Linked DNA regions of Homo sapiens: region 1 is linked to region 2. The links are contacts of gene promoters, found by promoter capture Hi-C in blood cells and fetal thymus (Javierre and others, 2016). All regions are on one chromosome and are shown on one strand. Each heading gives the region's core, a stretch centred on a gene start or on the middle of the fragment in contact. The rest is flanking DNA. Distances are from core to core; before and after follow the strand shown.

Region 1 (4,057 bases), core at 1,234-3,733, about 14 Mb before region 2:
AATACAAAATTAGCCGGGCGTGGTGGCACATGCCTGTAATCCCAGCTACTCAGAAGGCTGAGGCAGGAGAATCGCCTGAACCCGGGAGGCGGAGGTTGCGGTGAGCCAAGATCATGCCATTGCACTCCAGCCTGAGCAACAAGAGCGAAACTCCGTCTCAAAAAAAAAAAAAAGCCAAATTAAAAGTCTTGTTTTACTTGTTCTGCAGATCAACAAATCATTACTGAGATGTGAGGGAGGGAATAAGGGACTAGGTTGTTATCAAATCTTCTTTGGCCAATTCTCTAAACCCTGTATAGTCATCATTCACATGAAAAAAATACTGTTTGCTTCATTTGAGAGATTAAAAAAAGCAGCATCAAAGACTATATAATTACTAACCATTTTGTACTTTGACACTATCCTTAGGCAATAACCTATATATCTATCTCTTCTTTAAGGCTAATGTCCAGATCCCAAATAATATTTAGAATTTATGATTCTTCACTCTGCTCAGCGCTGTATCACAATGCTGAAGCAGCTAAAAACACTTTTATAGGAGGAAGTGTGTTTAGAGTCCAAAACAAGAAGTCTTAAATGTGTGCCAATCTTAGCTCTGCCATAGACTTAAATTTGATGACTTAAATCCCAATTCCTATGCTCAAATATCCACAGAAAAGGACCAACATTCACTTTTCTCAAAGGAATGTGGCCATGAGAGTGTAGTGAACTAACAAAGAGCCAAAGGAATTTATTGCAAAAAAAAAGGGGCTAAGGAAAAACATTAGACCTAGATACTTGGTAAACCCTTTGGGATTCTTCTGCATTTTGAAGTAACAATTCCCAAGAGAACAGACAGAGGTTGGGATGCCAAGACAAAGTCTTGACTTGTTTGAAATAAAAGCAAGAACAAAATTAACTCTTCAAATCAAGGTATAGATGAAAGAACAGATTCCATTCCAGGTGGTCAGGACAACAGAATTGAGAAATTTTGTTCCTAAGGAGTATCTCAGAGAAAAATGATTTTAGGGAGACTGAGAGCTCAAGGCAGTAGGGGAGGAACAAGAGTAGTCTTTTGTTTCTTGGCAAGTTGTGGTGTGTGGAATTCAAGTAGGAAAGAGGACTGGACTCAGTCTATGCGATGTCAAGCTCAGAATCTGGAGTAGACCTCCAAGATCACCTGGTTTAATTCTCTATTCTCAATCAACCTCTACTTTATTGCACCCATCATTCCTATCTGTGATGTCATCTCAACATCTGCTAGCACCAGCAAAGTATAAATTACAAACGAAACAGTTCCCTCCCTCCCATCTTAATAGATTAGGAAATAAGGGCCCAGAAGGGAGAAGTCCCTTCCTAGGCCCAAAAGGGAGAAGTAACTTCCTAAAGCCACATGATTAATGAGTTCTTCCTTGGGGATTCCAGGATCTTTTAGCACTGTTCTCAAGGACTCAAGAAAGGGTGTAAACAGGTTTATATTTATTAAGTGCCTAAGTTAGAAGCATTGTGGTAGGCACTTTCACATACATCATGTTTACACAGAGATAAAAATAATTGCAACCTTGAGTCCTGACTTTTTATTATGTAGGGTTTCTCTAAGACAAGCACAGGCTTTGGAATCAGAAAGACCAAGGTTCTACCAGTTGGGAAAGGTATTTTTCTTCTCTGAACTTGTATTCCTCCTGCATTTGGAAAGGTATAACACCACGTACTTCACAGGGTTGTTTTGAGGGTTAAAACATTATCAACCACAGGGAATGGTTCACAGAAGATACACAGTTACTGGTAACTATTGTTACCACTCCCGAGGGGACAACTATGGTAAACTGCAAGAATGTGGGAACGGAAGTTGAAACCGCCATTCACTAGCTGTGCAACACTGAGCCTGTCGGTCAGCAGGCAGTGGGAGGGGGGTTATAAAGATGGGCAAGGGACGCCGACTTGTAAACAAACACTGCCATTACAAGGTGAAGAGTGCTGTAACTGAGTTCGGTTCCCTGGACTCAAGGGCGGGAAGTGGTAACCTCAGCTTCCCTATCTGTAGACTGGGAGCATCAAATGAGATGACAACAGAGAGCCTGTATAAAGCTCAAAGCACACAACACTGCTGTTGTGAGCAAGGAGTAATGGAACAGAGGAGGGGCGTCCACCTGCCTCCTGGGACAGGGTCTGGGCGGCAACAGGGCGGGCCCGCTCGCTCCCACAGGGGGCGGTGGTGCTGGGGACCTTCCCACAGGTGCCGACCCCCAGCTGCGCCGCCGGTAACCGACAGGCCAAGCCAGCCGCCTCCGCCCCCGCTCGCCGCACCACGGCGGAAGTGGCAGCCTGAGCGGTTGGCGGGTGTCGGAAGGGGAGGGCGGGGGGAGACCGTGCGCAGCGGCCTATGGCCGTGAAGTGGCGGGACCGCCGGGGGTCTCACCTGAAGCAGGGAGGGTCCTCCAACACCAGCACGCGGCAAGAGAAAGATGGCTGCCTCAGCCGAGACAGAGAAAGACGACGGCGGCGGCGGCGGCGGCGGGAGCAGATCCACGTGATACAGCCGACCCCGCCTCTCCCTCTCCGGGGCAGCCTATCCCGGGAGCGAACATCTGAACTCCAACGCCCCGCCTGCTTTGCGCATCCCTCTTAGTGCTAGTGGCGGCAGGTGCAGGTGGCCGCGCGGCATCCTGGGGCTTGCAGTCTCCCGAGCGTTCTGTTGTGTCCCTGCCTACAATTTTAGGGAACCTAATAAAAGGGTGGTCGGTATGTTTTTATTTGGGTGTGTACTTTTGTTAGGTCGCTTTTTCGCTATGCATTAAGTACGGACTTTAGGACTCAACTAGTACCAGGAAGAAAAAGACCGGACATTTTCACCTGTTTGTTATACAGCGAAGGGGAAAAATTGGGAAGAAATCCTCAAGCTACAAGAAAAATAACCAGAAGCTTTACACTTTAGCCTGCAGTGACTTATATCCTGGTGTCCTAAGTCCACCTAAGTCAGTTTTGCAATAAGAGGTCCCAAGTTTGGTTTTCTTGGAGCTTGCATCAGTTGGTTGCATCATCCCTGAGTAGAAGATTTGCGGTTGCAAGGAAAAATAAGGTACAGAGCTTCTCCAGCGGGAAAGTGCATGTCTGCACGGCACGAGCCCACGCACCGCAGAACAGGCTTGCCAGGTCTCCTCAGAGACCCTCGCAGGAACCTAACAATGAAATCCAGTTGTCCAGTCTTGATTTGTGGAGGGGTAAGGAGAATCCGAGGCCAGTGGGCAATCCGCCCACTGTTGGGAGCGACTGACCTCACGAATCAATAATTTGCTTTTGACTAGGAAGTGCAGCGGTTCTTGGGGGGAGGGGCTGGACTGGGTGGCGGACGCGAGGAGCAACGGTTCTCCCGAACCTCTCCCCCGCCCCTACTATCTTGGCCTACATTTTCCCGCTCCGTCCCGGGACCTGGACACCCAGAATCCACGAAAAGCAACTCGCGCTCGAGAACAGCTCTCGTACCCTTCTACGTGATCTGCACCTTTAAGCTCACTCCATCCCAAACCGGACCCCGGAGGCACCACCCACATCCGTCTAACATCACTTCCTTCAGAGTTTGAAAAAAAAAAATCTGGGAAGTAGAGGTGTTGTGCTGAGCGGCGCTCGGCGAACTGTGTGGACCGTCTGCTGGGACTCCGGCCCTGCGTCCGCTCAGCCCCGTGGCCCCGCGCACCTACTGCCATGGAGACGCGGCCTCGTCTCGGGGCCACCTGTTTGCTGGGCTTCAGTTTCCTGCTCCTCGTCATCTCTTCTGATGGACATAATGGGCTTGGAAAGGGTCAGACCGCGTTCTTATCTTCTCTTTACTGATCTTTACTATACTGATCCCAGTATAATCTCTTCTTGCCCTAGCACCGTTCCCCTCCCATTCTAACTCTTAGGCCACTCCAGATTTCTTTTTATCTTCCCCAACCGCTCCTGGAGTTTGAAGATTTCTTGGGGTAGAGAGTAGCGGGTCTGGGGAATGGAGAAGTTGTACTTGAGGCCTCTCTAAATTATTGGATTGGGGGGAAGGAATGGCCCGTAAATTAAGGAAAGCATGTTAAGAGCCCAGCAT
Region 2 (4,485 bases), core at 1,958-4,457:
TACTTTGTATTTCCTCTGCCTGAAATTCACCTCCGTACTTAACAAATTTCTAACTCATCCTTCAAAACTCAGCTCAAACATCACCCCAAAAATTCTGCTTATTTTTCTTTTTAAAAAATATATTTTAAATTTTATTTATTTTTGAGACAGAGTCTTGCTCTGTCACCCAAGCTGGAGTGGAGTGGCGCCTCCTTGGCTGTCTCCTGGGCTCAACTGATCCTCCCACCTTGGCCTCCCAAGTAGCTGGGACTACAGGCATGCGCCACCACATTCGGCTAATTTTTGTGTTTTTTTGTAGAGATAGGGTTTCGCCAAGTTGTCCAGGTTGTCTTTTTTTTTTTTTTTTTTTTTTTTAAGTAGAGATGTGGTCTCCTGCTATGTTGCCCAGGCTGGTTTTGAACTCCTGGGGTCAAGTGATACTCCTGCCTTGGCCTCCCAAAGTGCTAGGATTATAGGCATGAATCCCCACCCTATGCCCTGCCCTCTGCTTATTTTTCTTTTTTAAAAATTTATTTTTAATTATTTTTTTTAAAGCTTAAAGATATGGTCTTGTTATGTTGCCCAGGCTGGTCTCAAATTCCTGGGCTCAAGTAATCCACCTGCCTTGGCCTCCCAAAGTGCTGGAATTCCAGGTGAGCCACTGTGCCCAGCCTGCTTATTTTTCTATCTCAGCAGTTTGCTGCAAAGTGTAGAGTTAGTTGCTCACCCTCATTATACCCAATAACTACTCAAAGCTGTTTAAATGTCCATCCCTGCCTTGGACTGAATTCCAGAGATGACATCCTTTGCTTCTGGCAAAAATCTAGCAGTCAATAGATGTACAGTAAACGTGTTGAATGAAAAGGTCTTTGTGAGATTTACATGTAGAATAAAAAGTTAGGTTAGAACCTCCTGCTAGAAACTCTCATAGTATCTTGTAAAACAGTTAAGATCTCAGGCTATGAAACCAGAATACCTGGGTTCAAACAGACTATCCCACTAACTAGCTTATGAGGCCTTGAGCAAAGTGTCCAATTTCTCTGTGCCTTAATCTTGTCATTTTGAAAAATAGGGATATTATTAGTTATGAAGAAAAATTAGTTAATGTATGTAAAACACTTGGTACAATGCCCATCTGGCATAGAAAGCACAATATGCTCACTGACCACTACTCTATTCTATCTCCTTTGTAGTACCTATACTTTTAATTACATAATTGTATGTGGATTTTTCTAATAGCTCTTTTCTACTAATCTGTATGTTCCTGAAGGCAGAGACAATGTCTGTTTTATTCCCTAGTGCATCTTTAGCACCTAGCACTGTGACTGACACATGCTCAGTATTTGGAGAAATAAGCAAATGAATGGCTTAATAAATAAAAGGGCAAGTCAAAAGGATCATTCAATGTCTAATATGTGAGCAGACCATGCATTTCTATCCAGGAAGGAGACTACATGCTGGATAGTTAATAATAAGGAAAACAGAAAAGGGCAACCCAGCAGAAAAGTACAGCCTCCTGCATTTCTCCGGACATTTAATAAGGGAGTGCAGAAACAGGCTGGGATTTTTCTCTGGCCAGGAAAACTGATGTGTCTTTTTTTTTGAGACGGAGTTTCACTCTTGTTGCCCAGGCTGGAGTGCAATGGCGTGCTCTCAGCTCACCGCAACCTCTGCCTCCCAGGTTCAAGCGATTGTCCTGCCTCAGCCTCCAGAGTAGCTGGGATTAGAGGTATGCGCCACCACGCCCGGCTAACTTTTTTGTATTTTTAGTAGAGACAGGGTTTCTCCATGTTGGTCAGGCTGGTCTCGAACTCCTGACCTCAGGTCATCTGCCCGCCTCAGCCTCCCAAAGTGCTGGGATTACAGGCGTGAGCCACCACGCCCAGCCTGATGCGCCCATTTTTAGGTTAGCAATTTCCATAAGCTGCAGAAGGAGCTGCTTCGGGTTATTCTTCTATCTGAGCTCTGGTTAACTAACCATGTCATTTATTCATTCATTTTTAAATGGGTAAAATATACATATATTTTTAAAAATACTATTTTCTGGCCGGGCGCAGTGGCTGACTCCTGTAATCCCAGCACTTTGGGAGGCCTATGTAGGTGGATCACTTGAGGTCAGGAGTTCGAGACCAGCCTGGCCAACATGGTGAAACCCCGTCTCTACTGAAAATACAAAAATCAGCGGGGCATGGTGGCAGGCGACCGTAATCCCAGCCACTCCAGAGGCTGAGGCAGGAGAATCACTTGAACCCAGAAGGTGGAGGTTGCAGTGAGCAGGGATCGCACCACTGCACTGCACTGCACTCCAGCCTGGGTGACAGAGTGAGACTCTGTTTAAAAAAAATTAAATAAATTTCCTGATGTGTGAAAATTATGTGAAATTCACATTTCAGTGTATCCATAACTAAAATTTTATTGGAATACAGCCCATCCATGCCCATTCACTACAGCTGTTTTGGACCTGTAAACAGCAGAGCTGAGTTGTCCGACAGAGACCGCCCCGCCCGCCGCCCCCCAACCACCCCCCCATTTTTCATAGAGAAAAATGAAGTAGGGAAGTGAGACAGAGAGTGAAAGGGTCTGCAATTTTCCATAAGTGGTCATGTCAGATCTCATTAAAAGGTGACATCTGAGCGAGCCCTTTCTGAAGGGTGTCACCTAACCCCAAGGGGCTCCTGGCCTCCGCCCAGGGAAGCTCTCCAGCTCTTACCGAAGTAGTCAAGCCAGTTCATCTCGCGCAGAGCCTTGGGGAGCCGCAGGATCTCGATGTTGTAGAGGTTATCCACCTCCTTGAGGAGGTTCTGCCTGTCTGACTCAATTTGCTTGATTCGTATTTCCACTGCGGGAGGGCAGAGCCGACAGGACACGGGTCACGGGCGGGCGAATCTGTGCAGCTCGTGTCCCCACCCGCCAGCATCCCGCGACCGCCCCAGGAGGCCGCGACGGCCTGGCCCCTTACCTTCACGGTCGAAGTCTTTCAGAAAGGAGGCGAGCTTCCGCCTCCGTAAGGAGTTGGTCTTGGCCACCCGACTACTGCCCTTCCTAGGAGCCATGGCGCTCGGCGGAGGCTGCGGGGAGCGGCGGAGATGGGGCAGGGAAGCAAGAAACTGGGTAGGGACGAGGAGGGCGGACGGGGACCACCCGAAGAAGTCGCCAGGCACGTACCTGCGGTCCCGAGACAAGGGCTGAGCAAAACCTCGCTGTGCCAGTGAGAGAGAGCGGCTCTACAGTCAACCGCCACCCAATTCAAACTCCACAGTCACAGGCTGACGAATGAGAAGCCGCCGTCCCACAACATCCAATCACAAGCAAGTTCCTGCCGGCCCAGGGTCTTCCGCCCAATGCGCCCCCTATAGCCTGAGTGCGACAGCGAGGCCGCCGCCGTCGCGGGTACTCCTGGGAGTTGTGGTCCAGGCTTGTTTCCCCGCCCTCCCCACCAACCCACCCGGCTCCGCCCTGGCCGGCTGCGAACTATACAAACTACTACTCCCGGCAGGCCTTGTGGCGGCTCTGCAATACCCCAAGCTCTGGAGGGCTGGGGGCCTACTAGGTCAGGTCGGCTGTAGGATTCTGCTCCAGGGTTGGCGGCTGCTTCTTTCTGGCCTGGCTGCCACTGAGTAGCCGAGGGGCCGCCGTGACCCTCTGACTGATTGACTGGCTGGCTGCCTACGTCGGCGCTCCTCAGGGCCCCAAGCTCCTCAGGCCGAACTTCGGGCAAGTGGCGGGTCGGCAGAGACAGAGCAGCCCCGGCAGGGTTTGACAGAGCAAGGGGGACGGAATGATAGAGGAGCAGGGCAGGGGTGCAGGCTTTGGGGGGGGCGCGCTATCCCGCGGCCAGTCTGGGCAGCGAGTGGGGGGAACCCTGTCGTTCCTCGCTCCCCCGCGGGCCGGCCACTCCCGCCCAGTTCGCGTGTTGGCGCCTCGACTGGGTGCGCAGCGCGGGGCTGCGACTTCAGGTGCAAGTAGTGGCGCTTGGCAGCTGGCCACACGGTGACTGCAGCATGAGCCGCGGCCACCAGGCTCCAGGGAGCCCAGGGCAGGAGGCAGCTCTGGGTGTCGTGGCCGTGGGCCTGGGAATGGGCGTGTAGACGGCGAGCCCCGCCGAGCCGCGGTCCTGTCGGAGGTGCTAACTGTGCATCTTGGTATCTGCCCACGGCCACAGGGTTGGATTGCTCAAGAGTTGTGCTGAGACCCAGAAGGCTAGAGGCTAGTTTCGAAGCTGTAGCTCAGGCTGAGTCTCAAGGCGGGCGGCGACTGGACGGCCAGACCGGCGAGCTCTTGACGGGTTTGTGGCCTGATTGTTTGGATTTGGTGCTTTTCACCTGTGGATGCGGTCTGAAGCCATGTCAGAGGGGTTGTGTTTAAGCGTGCATGTTATAGGCTATGGGAGTGATAATCTTGCCTCTCCCCCTCTGAGTTGAGGAACAATCGAAGAAATAAGCAAAGGTGCCAAGCAGGCTCCTGATGGGCACCAGCGAGCTTGGGGACAGAGCAGTCCAAGCATAG

The links. The method cuts DNA at HindIII sites, captures the fragments that hold promoters and counts their contacts. A CHiCAGO score of 5 or more calls a contact.
Region 1: the fragment with the promoter of BTF3L4 here is called in contact with the fragment with the promoter of CDCA8 in region 2 in 1 of 17 cell types (fetal thymus); the score reaches 6.7 in fetal thymus.

The regions. Positions count from the first base shown.
Region 1 is chr1:52,054,721-52,058,777 of GRCh38, reverse strand. BTF3L4 (basic transcription factor 3 like 4) reads right to left here and starts at 2,483. Exons shown (of 6, transcript NM_152265.5): 1 at 2,399-2,483. It overlaps TXNDC12 (thioredoxin domain containing 12), which reads left to right and starts at 3,587. Exons shown (of 7, transcript NM_015913.4): 1 at 3,587-3,778. The coding sequence starts at 3,682. RefSeq lists enhancers at 1,568-2,279, 2,280-2,993 and silencers at 2,059-2,298, 3,159-3,563. The HindIII fragment of the contact is 3,174 bases long and covers 1-2,903 here.
Region 2 is chr1:37,691,238-37,695,722 of GRCh38, reverse strand. It overlaps CDCA8 (cell division cycle associated 8), which reads right to left and starts at 3,207. Exons shown (of 10, transcript NM_001256875.2): 1 at 2,939-3,207; 2 at 2,690-2,818. The coding sequence starts at 3,032. It also overlaps a transcript of AIRIM not described here. RefSeq lists enhancers at 2,426-2,934, 2,935-3,445, 3,484-3,673, 3,446-3,955, 3,956-4,466 and silencers at 3,904-4,073, 4,094-4,153. The HindIII fragment of the contact is 4,527 bases long and covers 537-4,485 here.